Linked DNA regions of Homo sapiens: region 1 is linked to region 2. Evidence: promoter capture Hi-C in human tissues and cell types (Jung and others, 2019). All regions are on one chromosome and are shown on one strand. Each heading gives the region's core, a stretch centred on a gene start or on the middle of the fragment in contact. The rest is flanking DNA. Distances are from core to core; before and after follow the strand shown.

Region 1 (6,195 bases), core at 1,692-4,191, 300 kb before region 2:
ACCTGCTGAGATTACAGGTGTGAGCTGCCATGCCCAGGCTGGTTGGACTTTTAAAAATCTGTAGTTTGTTCTATTGAGTGACCAACTGCTCCAGTTTTCCAAGGACTAATGGGGTACCTGGGATGTGGGACTTCGAGTGCTAAAATTGGAAAGTCCTGGGCAAACTAGGATGAGTTGGTTACCCAACTTCTGTCCTAAGGCTAGAAAAGGAATCCCAAGATATTCTCTTCACCAGATGTCACCTGCATCACCTGTAAATTTAAATGGCTTCCTGTCTTCTTGAGGTCCCTGATTTTTCTAAGGTCCCTCTTCTGCCAGGAAGCAATCCCTGTCGTTCCAGGCCAGCTTCCTGGTAGGGTTTTGTAGGAAGTAGCTCCATGAGCATTCCTTATAGTAGGCTTGTCACACCTGATTAAATGAGGACATCCCATAAAAAGACACTCCAGGTAAGGCCTTGATTGCACAATTGATTTATCCAATTATATCTTGATAAAAAAGGAGGACAGATTCTGTTGAACCTGTGCAAATAATTATATTGCCATAGAAAGTAAGGAGAGTCTGTAAAAGTAATTTTTTTTTTTTTTGAGACAGGGTCTTGCTCTTTCACCTAGGCTGGAGTGCAGTGGTGCGATCTTGGCTCATTGCAACCTCCGCCTCCTGGGTTCAAGTGATCCTCTCGCCTCAGCCTCTTGAGTAGCTGGGACTACAGGCCTGCGCCACCATGCCCAGCTGATGTTTTGTATTTTTTATAGAGGCAGGGTTGCGGGTTTCTCCATGTTGCCCGGGCTTAAAATTATTGGTTTCTGAATTGTGAGGGGGTCAGTGAGATTCAGATACCACTTGAAATGTTGAATATCAGTTTACAAAAGTATAATCTGGCAGGGCATGGTGGCTCACGCCTGTAATCTCAGCATTTTGGGAGGCTGAGGTGGGCAGATCACCTGAGATTAGGAGTTCCTGACTAGCCTGACCAACATGGTGAAACCCCGTCTCTACTAAAAATACAAAAATTAGCCAGGCGTGGTGGCTATTTTCTGTATTCCTAGCTACTTGGGAGGCTGTAATGTGTGTCTGTAATCCTAGCTACTTGGGAGGCTGAGGCAGGAAAATCACTTCAACGTGGGAGGCGGAGGCTGCAGTAAGCCGAGATCAAGCCACTGCACTCCAGCCTGGGTGACAGCAGAGTGAGGCTCTGTCTCAAAAAAAAAAAAAAGTATAATCTACTAAACTGAGGGTTAGAGACAGCTCAAGAAGACCAGGAAAGAGCTTCCTTACAGATCTATTAAAGTAGAACAATAAAAAATAATATCAACTATATTGCCCACAAAGAGCCATAACTAGATTTCCTTTGGCTGTTCAATCAACACCATGTAATCAATTATTGTTCTGCCGGATCTTGGGTAAGCTGTCTGCTTTTGGACTCAAAAGAGTTGTAGGAATCCTCAGTCTACTAGCTCAGTCAAAAGGACATCCAGTGTCAGCTTGGAAGCCTACACCCAAGTGAAGCATAAATAGTTCATCGAACCTGGTACAGTCCTTTTTCTCTAGACTTTGAGTGTGTTTTTCTTTGTTGAAGATGCAGTCTGTGGCCTGCAGCTTATAGCAGAGGCTTCAGGCAGGCATTGGAAAGGAGAAACATGTCCAGTAATGACACTGAAAGGCTGTGGTTATGTATTACACTACCTAATAATATCAGAACGGAGGACAGTGGAATTCTCTCCTGGGGTACAATGCACAACTATTTCATAATGGTTTGATCAGTTTTTCCCCTGAAGATAAAAACATACTGCCTGTAATACCAGGACTTTGGGAGGCTGAGGCAGGAGGATCACTTGAGCCCAGAAATTCAAGACCAGTCTGGACAATATGGAGAGATTCCATCCTATAAAAAGGTTTAAAAAATTAGCCAGGTGTGGTGGTGTGCACCTGCAGTCCCAGCTACTTGGGAGGCTAAGGTGGGAAGATTGCTTGAGCCTGGGAGGTCAAGGCTGCAGTGAGCCATGATCACGCCACTGCACACCAGCCTGGGAGGCAGAGTGAGAACCTGTCTCAAGAAAGAAAAAAAAAAAAGAACATATTATAAATAGCAAAATCATTGAAAAATCTCCAGGGCCTTCACATAAAGCATGCAATTTCTGAAATATTGATATTAATAGCATTTTACCTATGAAAATTTAGCCTAGGAAAGCCTGAACATCTCTTCTGATTTGATTGCTCTTCCCATGATGATCTTGTAATAGTGTTGAAGTATTTAAAACATATAGAGAAAGATATCTTAAAATTTTTATTGTATTTTTTTCTAAATTTAGGATCTGATCTTGGGAAGGCAAAATCAAAAGAACGGTTAGAGAAGATTTAGGCACTAGATTAAGACGTCATGGGAGACCAAGAAATATTACTTTGTTATCTATTTAATCGAAGTAATAATAAAATAAAATATTTTGAAATAAACATAGAAGAAGGTAATATGATTACAAGAGTAGATAGCTTTTTTATAAGGGAGATACCTTTGCTTTTTGTTTTTTAAAATAAGATATAATAAGTTCAAAACAAAGCAGAGGAAATGATTCTGGGGAGATAGATAGGGAATCTCTGTTATCTGGGAGGCTTACACAGAAGCTAAACAGTAGCCTCTTTTTAACCCTTGCTAAGAGCTCTAAGACCAATTTATTATTTTAGTAGAGATAAAGATAAATTCTAGTTTTGCTTTAATAGAATATGTGGCCATAAAATTTTCATGAGTTTTTATTATTTCTTTTTACTTATTTTTATTTATTTATTTTTATTTTTATTATTATCATTTGAGACAGTTTCACTCTTGTTGCCCAGGCTGGAGTGCAATGGCGTGATCTTGGCTCACTGCAACCTCTGCCTCCTGGGTTCAAGCGATTCCCCTGCCTCAGCCTCCTGAGTAGCTGGGATTACAGGCGCCTGCCACCACCTCTGGCTATTTTTTTTTATTTTTATTTTTAGTAGAGACGGGTTTCACTATGTTGACCAGGCTGGTCTTGAACTCCTAACCTCAGGTGATCCACCCGCCTCGGCCTCCCAAAGTGCTGGGATTACAGGCATGAGCCACTGTGCCAAGCCTATTTATCATCAATTTTTAAGCCCATTAAAACTGGGCCAAATTTGGCAAAATGTTAATACATTTCATAGCTTATTTTCAGACTCAGGCATTATAAATCAAGGCAAATAAAATTCTCTTTCAGTAAACTTTCTACGACATTCTATATCCATTCAAGTTTTGCCTTTTTATCCTTTTTCATGTTGTAGAATAACCAGACAATTTCACACAACAGTGCATCCCATTTTCCTTGCAGACAAAGTTTTGTTTGTCTGTCGCTATAGCTCCTAGTAAAGCCTCAAGCATCTGTAGTTAATTGAACTGTTGTTGTTGTTGCCGTTGTTTTGAGACAGGGTCTTGCTCTGTTGTCCGGGCTGTAGTGCAGTGGCGCAATCTCAGCTCACTGCAACCTCCGCCTTCTGGGTTCAAGCTATTCTCATGCCTCAGCCACCCAATTAGCTGGAATTACAGACGCCCGCCACCATGCCAGGAGGATTTTTTCTGTTTTTAGTAGAGACAGGGTTTCACCATGTTGGCCAAGCTGGTCTCGAACTCCTGACCTCAAGTGATCCACCTGCCTAGGCCTCCCAAAGTGCTGGGATTACAGGTGTGAGCCACCATGCCCAGCCTGTATTAATTGCACTTTTAACCAGTGTAATTAACCTCTTTCACAGAAAGAACTAAGGGTAAATAATTGAGAACTGTCTTATACAAGCATTTTAGCAGACAAGCAAAGCTCACAAATACACATAAGCCAACTTTCTACAGCCTTGCATATCCCTAACACAACTTTTAAAAAAAGTGGTCAAATATGCAATGCATAACAGAAAATTTATCATTTTAACTATTTTTAAATGTACCATTCAGTGGCATTAAGTACATTCACGATGTTGTACCACCATTTCCCCAGCCATCTCCAAAGCTTCTTTCATCTTGCCAAACTGAAATTCTGCACCCATCGAACAGTAACTCCCATACTTCCCTCTCCCCAACCCCTGGCTATCCCTAGTCTACTTTCTGTCTCTATAACTTTGATTACTCTAGATACCTCATAGAAATGGAATCATACAGTATTTGTCTTTTAGTTACTGGTGTATTTCACATAGCAGAATGTCCTCAAGGTTTATCTGTATCGTAGCATGTGTCCAAATGTTCTTTTTAAAGACCAAATGATATTCCGTTGTACATATACGTCACATTTTGTCTACCCTCTTATCTGTCAGTGAACACTTGGGTTGATTCTTTTGGTGATTGTAAATAATGCTGCTATGAATATGGGCATACAAATATCTGGGTCTTTGCCGCTTTCTTTTGTACAACTTTTTTTTTTTTTTAATTGAGATGGAGTCTCACTCTGTCGTCCAGGCTGGAGTGCAGTGGCATGATCTTGGCTCACTGCAACCTCCGCCTCCTGGGAGTCTCACTCTGTCATCCAGGCTGGAGTGCAGTGGCATGATCTTGGCTCACCGCAACCTCCGCCTCCTGGGATCAAGTGATTCTCCTGCCTCAGCCTCCTGAGTAGAGTAGCTGGGATTACAGGCATGCACCATCACGTGTGGCTAAGTTTTGTGTTTTTAGTAGAGACAGGGTTTCACCATGTTGGCTAGGCTGGTCTTGAACTCCTGACCTCAGGTGATCCACTTGCCTTGGTCTCCCAAAGTGCTAGGATTACAGGCGTGAGTCACCTCGCCCAGACTGCACAACTTTTTAAAGCAGAAAAAAATGAATTCATTTAACATTACCTAAAGATATAGCTACTTTCCAGCATGTGAAAATAAGAAGTAAAAAATATATCAACTTAAAAATATGCCTAGCAATCAATGTTTCAGTATTAAATTTGTTTTAGAAATTATCCAGATAGCCAAAAATTATTTATTAATTGATGTACTTCAATATTAATTCAAAATTTTAAAGTTACCTAAGAATCTTGGAAACTGTGTTTAAGGTGACACACTGGAAGTTATAATTACTGTTGATACAAAATTTATTTGTTAGAGTAATTAATCAATTTAGTGGGGCACAAATTTACATGTTTATAATCTCAAACATATGTAAAGATAAAGTTGACTTATTTGATCCGAAAGTCGAAATGAGAAGTATAGGAAATCTAGATTAACTCGTTTCTTCACAGAAAACAAATATAGATCTTATGAAAAACAGAATGTATACTTGAATTATACTTAACATAAAGCACAGAAAAGACAGATAGCTATTATATGTGTTTTATCAAAACAATTATTAAACCAGTCTAATTTGTTCAAAGAATCATGTTAATTATATGGACCTGGCTCCTGAAAAATTTTCTGAGCTAGCGATTTCTAAGAAGAATTGTTTTAAGTCTAAGTCATTTAAAGCATTCAAATTTCAGTTATTTTCTGTTATTTTTAGGAGAATTAGAGTTATATAATCACTTATTTGTCTCTATAAACCAATCAACACAGAACTCCTTTAAGAGACATAGTACGCTAAGTTATTAATACCTTCCAGATGTACAAAAGTATTTCACACTGACATAAGAGTTAAAGACCTTTCGGGCGTGGTGGTACATTCCTGTAATCCCAGCTACTCGGGAGGCTGAGGCAGGAGAATCACTTGAACCCAGGAAGTGGAGGTTGCAGTGAGCCAAGATTGCGCCACTGCATTCCAGCTTGAGTGACAGAGTAAGACTCCATCTCAAAAAAAAAAAAAAGAGTTAAAGGCCTGTCTATTACAGACATATAGATACACAGACACACAGAGAATGTCTTGCTTCATTTCTACAGTTCCAGCCACAGATCAAAAGTAAACACAGCAGGCTGGGCGTGGTGGCTCATGCCTGTAATCCCAGTACTTTGGGAGGCTGAGGCAGGTGGATCACCTGAGGTCAGGGGTTCGAGACCAGCTTGGCCAACATGGTGAAACCCCATCTCTACTAAAAATACAAAAACTAGCCAGGTGTGGTGGCAGGCACAGGTAATCCCAGCTACTCAAGAGGCTGAGGCAGGAGAATTAGTTGAACTCGGGAGGTGGAGGTTGCAGTGAGCCAAGATTGTGCCACTGCATTCCAGCCTGAATGACAGTAAACACAACAACATGAAACATGAAAACTCACCAATCCAGATCTCAAAGAGCTGTTCTCCTTCCCAGTC
Region 2 (5,140 bases), core at 1-2,500:
GGGCCGGGAGACCAGGTGGTAAAGGAGGCCTCAGGCAAAGACAACCCAGTGTCCTGGGATCAGGGAGGCCTGGGGATGGAGCAGCAAGAACATGGTCATCCAGGCTCCCAACGAACCTTTGCTGGAACTGTAGGACACCCACTTTTGCTTTGGAAATCCAACTTCTCTTGTATTCTTCCTGGGTGACCTTGGGCAAGTTACTTAACCTCTCTGATTCTGTTTCTTCCTATGTAAAGTGGGGATAGGAATAGTACCTACCTCATGAGGTTGTTATAGGATTAATAAGAAAATACTCATAAGCATGAAAAAGAGTGCATGTTAGCTATTATTATCCTCTGAGTTTCAGGGAGGAAACTGCCCTCCCTTGGGGCAATGAGGTGATGACAGCAACAACTAAAATGAGAGAACCCCAGTGGGGAGGTGGGAACATCACAGTACTCCCTGCCACCCTTACCAGGTTTGTGATTATTTTAAATAAAACATGCTGTTTCCTGGCCAGGCACAGTGGCTCACATCTGTAATCCCAGAATTTTGGGAGGCCGAGGCAGGAGGATCACCTGAGGCCAGGAGTTCAAGACCAGCCTGAGCAACATGGTGAAACCCCATCTCTACTAAAAATACAAATAATTAGCAGGGCGTGGTGGCAGGCCCTGTAATCCCGGCTACTCAGGAGGCTGAGGCAGGAGAATCGCTTGAACCGGGAGGCAGAGGGTGCAGTGAGCCGAGATCCCACCACCGCACTCTGTCTCTAAAGAATAAAAAAGACATTATTTCCTTACAGCTGTGAGCAGGGGCAGATGCAGAAAAGAAGGTGCTGGGAAAGAGGCCAAGTAAAAGCCACTGGACCTTCTGAAGGAGAAAGTGTGGTTGGCTGGAACCACTAGGCCAAGAAACCAGCCAAGGGTCTGGCTCCGGGTGGCCTTTTTTTTTTTTTTTTTTTTTAAGAGACGGTGTCTCACTATGTTGCCCAGGTTGGTCTTGAACTCCTGGGCTCAAGCAATCCTCCTGCTTCGGCCTCCCAAAGCACTGGAATTAGAGGTGCAAACCACTGCACCAGCCCAGACTGGGCTCCAGAAGCTACCTCTGGGCCCTGTTGCCACCTCTTAGGTGGCTTCTGGAATGGGGGTCTACAGGTGTGAAAGGTCAGCCCCCCTGAGGGAGAGGTGGGGCCCGAGCAGGCTCCTCCCACTGCGGGAGTGCTGGCCTTTCCCCTGCAGGGCTGTGGCTCTGGGACCACTTCCTCTTTCTTCACTCTGAAGCCAAGAGCCGACCTTCTGAGCCCTCAAGAAAGATCAGAACAGATTCATGGGTGATTTAGCCTATCTGTCCCAGGCCAGCGTGGCTGAGTGTGCTGGCTGGAGGCCTCTCTCTCTGCTTCGAGGGTAGCTGAGATCCACCCCGGAAACCGGCAGGATGAAGGGGGCAAGTGAGGAGAAGCTGGCATCTGTGTCCAACCTGGTCACTGTGTTTGAGAATAGCAGGTATGGGCAGCTGGGGTGGGAGGGTCACCATGGTGGGCTGGCAGCCACCCTCCAGCCTTTCTGGCAGCTCTCTCCCTGGGCCCTGCCCCGGACCCTCCTCCTGCAGGGGCAGCCCCGCGTTCCTCGGTCACGGATTCCTTGGAGCATGGGAGAGTGTCGGTGGGACACCAGGAGCCAGGCAGGGGTGAGAGTGCCAGTGTGTGTTGGGAGAGTCCAGACAGGTGTGGTTACGAGCAAGCATGGGCAGACCAAAGCCTGTGTGTGGGCACAGGACCCCACCCAGTGCCTGCCAGCACCTCTCAGAAAAGGTAGCTGATACTCACCAAGAATTTACGCCCTATGATTAGGATAACCATATAATTTATCATTCAGCACACAATTGAAACTGAAAGTAAATGCCAAATAAAATGTGGTGGTTGTGGGGGAGGCATTACAGGTAAAGCTGGGACCGTATGAGGCAAACCAGGATGTACGGGCAGCATCCTGATGGGGTACTCCCTACTCTAAGTTCATGTCCTTACTTATTTAATTTAGTCATCGAACAGCCTAATAGGGGTAGATTCTGTTTCTGTTCCCGTCTTATAGATGAGGAAATGGAGACACAGAGAGGTGAGGATGCCAAGTGCTTTAAGTATCTGGGGCAATGCTGGGGCGTCTGTCTGGAGGGAAAAGGCTGGGCCAGATGCGTGGAGTCATTGGTAGCCCTGGGAGCATGTGTGTTTGTGTGTGTGCGCGTGTGTGTATGTGTGTGTTGTGTGTTATGTGTGGCATCAATCCATTCTGCAGGCATTTCTTAAGCTCAGGACTGTGTTAGGGGCTGTCCCAGGTAGGGTTTTCTGGAAATAGACTCAGACAGAGGTTTGCCTCAGGTGATTTATCAGGGAGAGCTTTTGGGAACAACAGCTGTGGGTGTGAGGGAAGCAGGGCCGGGCAGGGGGAGATGCTGAACTGCAGTGCACCTGCCACAGAGGCCTCAGCCTGTCCCAGGGAGCTCTGGAGCTGGGATGCCTCTCGGTTGTTCCAGCTGAGGAAGAGGGCTGGGTATTTGTATCTCCATGTGGACTGGACAAGAGACTCTGGGTGAGGCAGCTCTCTCTTCCAGAGAGTGATTCCCAGAGAGGGACTCAGCCAATAAATTACCCGGCAGCCCCCAGTACTACCAGTAGCTGGTGGGGATGGTGTGGGGAGGCCTCATTCCTGAAGGAGGGACATGGGTGGCACAGCACAGCATCCTACAGGAACTGTAGAGGATGAAGAAGGGTTTCAGTATTTGGATGCTGAGCTCATCGAATAACTATGATGCAAGGTCATAGACAGTAGATGTCCTAGGAATGGCCCGGATGCTGTATTGAGGGCACTCATGGCAGGCAATGTTTCCTGTAGGCTTCAGGGTGGAGATGGCATAGATGTAGACCTAGAAGTCTTCAACTTCCTGAGCTGGGTGATTCTCCCCTGCCTCTCCCGGGATCTTTGCCAAGCTCGTCCTGTTCAGCACCAAAGACAGCTCTTGGGTGCCGCCTTCCTGGCCCACCACCCCCTTGGGTGTGGGTGGATGGTACCACCTCACTCAACATGCTTGACGTGGACTAGGCACACCTGGGTGGAGCCCCTCAGCATGCTGTGCTCTGCCCAGGCAATAACCCTGGCAGGAGTGGGCAGCCCTTAGACGGGAGTTAGGTCCCAGCAGGCATCAAGAGGGTGAGAGCCACTCCTTACTGAGTGAGGGGACCCATACCAACTGCCTTGGCCTGGGCTTCCTTATGAGGTCTCCAGCACCTCAGCTGATCTGAAACTGAGGGGCAAAGAGGAAACAGAAGCTGGCCAGGGGCCCTAGAACAGAAATGCAGAACCTGAAACCAAATGTAGAACAGAAAGCCTGAGAACCAGCTACGCCCATGAGCTGCAGACCCATGGGCTGAGAAACCAGGGACTGGGGTGCCAGGGAGGGGTGGGAGAGCCTGGGAGTAGCCACACAGCACTAGGTCCCAATGCTTTCGCTGCCACAAACCCAATTGTGTCACTTGGGGCAAGTCACTTTGACTCCGCGGACCTGTTTCTCCTTTACTCAAATGGGGAGGGGCAGGTTAGAGTGAAGGCTCAGGAAGCAGTCGCCTGATTTGAATCCCACCTCTGCCACTTCCGAGCCGCATGTTACTCATCCTGTCCAGACCTCAGTTTCCTTGAGTGCAAAATATGGGTAATGAAAACCTTTCTCACGGAGTTTTGGAGATTTCGTATTTGTTTGGCCTTCCATTTCCTGGCCTGTCTTTCTCATAAGGATGCCTGCCCTGTTCTGTCATCACAAGCCCTTCCACACCAAGGGCAACGTTGGGTGTATTCATCAAGGGTGGGCCCTGTTGTCTAAGGAATTTGACTGGCTTGCAGAACCCAGTACACAGGGTAATAAAGGTGACCTACGAAGGCCCGTCCCTGGGAGAACAGAGCATCTGCTGCTGGGCTGGCTCTCCCTGCTTCTGGACGTGTGGAGGATGTCGATCCCATTGAGAAGCCCCAGCTTTTGCAGGCCTGCTCTCACTTTATATTGTTCTGTGGCTCCTACCTTCCCTTGATGTATAGGTTACTGATGTGGAAACTGAAAACAGAGGTGAGGTCCAAAGGTGAGGATAATCCAGGGGGTACCACTCAAAAACCCCTATATACAGAAAGGATTCCTGGACACTGTGGCTTCATTTTAAACAAGGAAGTATGCAGTTCCCCAGAAAATAAAATATAGTCCACCCTGACTCATTTTGAACACTGAGTTCCCTCCAAGAATGTGTTGGGAGAGAAGTGAAAGTCTTACTCAGCATGTTCCCAAAGAAAGCCAGGCACCCAGGGGCCCCTGCACTGGGGATTTGCACCAGGCAACCCAAATCCACACCAGGGACTTGCTGCTGTTTTCCCTGTTCTCCAGGGAGGAAGCCCTCAGGTCTGTCTCTTCTCCTCAGGACCCCAGAAGCAGCACCCAGAGGCCAGAGGCTAGAGGACGTGCATCACCGCCCTGAGTGCAGGCCTCCCGAGTCCCCAGGACCACGGGAGAAGACGAATGTCGGGGAGGCCGTGGGGTCTGAGCCCAGGACAGTCAGCAGGAGGTACCTGAACTCCCTGAAGAACAAGCTGTCCAGCGAAGCCTGGAGGAAATCTTGCCAGCCTGTGACCCTCTCAGGATCGGGGACGCAGGTGCCTGAGGGCTGAGGTAGAGGTGTGGGGTGCTGGGGTGGGGAGCTCTCCCTGACCTCCCCTCCACACATGCTTTCCTAGCCAGAGCCAGCAGTTCCCCAGGTGGGGGTATGGTGTGATCAGAGGTCAGCTGGGAGCTAGATTTCCCCATGCTTAATGGCCTTTGATTCACTAACTGCCTGCTACGCACCGTGCTGGATTACTTCGCGAGTCCCTCGTGTAGGAGTTTTTTGGACAAGGAAGTTGAAACACAGTTTTAAGGAACTTATTCAAGGCCACACAGCTTGGAACAGTCTCCATCTTGTGAACCTAATACTCTTCTCAGGTGGGGCCTCAGTTTACCCACTGGAGGAGACAACAATCTCAACCTAGAAATAGAGGTCTGAGTGTGAACTGTCCTGCCCTTAGACTAAAGCCCAGTCTGATCTCTTCTGTGGCTTGCAGTTTTCTCATCTGCAGAGTTCAAGGGTTGGCATGCA

Evidence for each region. The method cuts DNA at HindIII sites, captures the fragments that hold promoters and counts their contacts. A contact is called where the count stands out against the background at its distance.
Region 1: a contact is called between a fragment that was not itself captured here and the fragment with the promoter of FGD2 in region 2, in 2 of the 25 tissues and cell types used here (aorta and spleen).

The regions. Positions count from the first base shown.
Region 1 is chr6:36,706,161-36,712,355 of GRCh38, forward strand. All of the region lies in intron 2 of RAB44 (RAB44, member RAS oncogene family), which reads left to right. Among named protein-coding and RNA genes, the nearest start is that of RAB44, 11 kb to the left of the region's middle. The HindIII fragment of the contact is 5,627 bases long and covers 129-5,755 here.
Region 2 is chr6:37,004,405-37,009,544 of GRCh38, forward strand. It overlaps FGD2 (FYVE, RhoGEF and PH domain containing 2), which reads left to right and starts at 1,251. Exons shown (of 16, transcript NM_173558.4): 1 at 1,251-1,481; 2 at 4,430-4,661. The coding sequence starts at 1,414. RefSeq lists a silencer at 849-1,011 and enhancers at 1,267-1,396, 3,217-3,386. The HindIII fragment of the contact is 13,068 bases long and covers 1-1,361 here.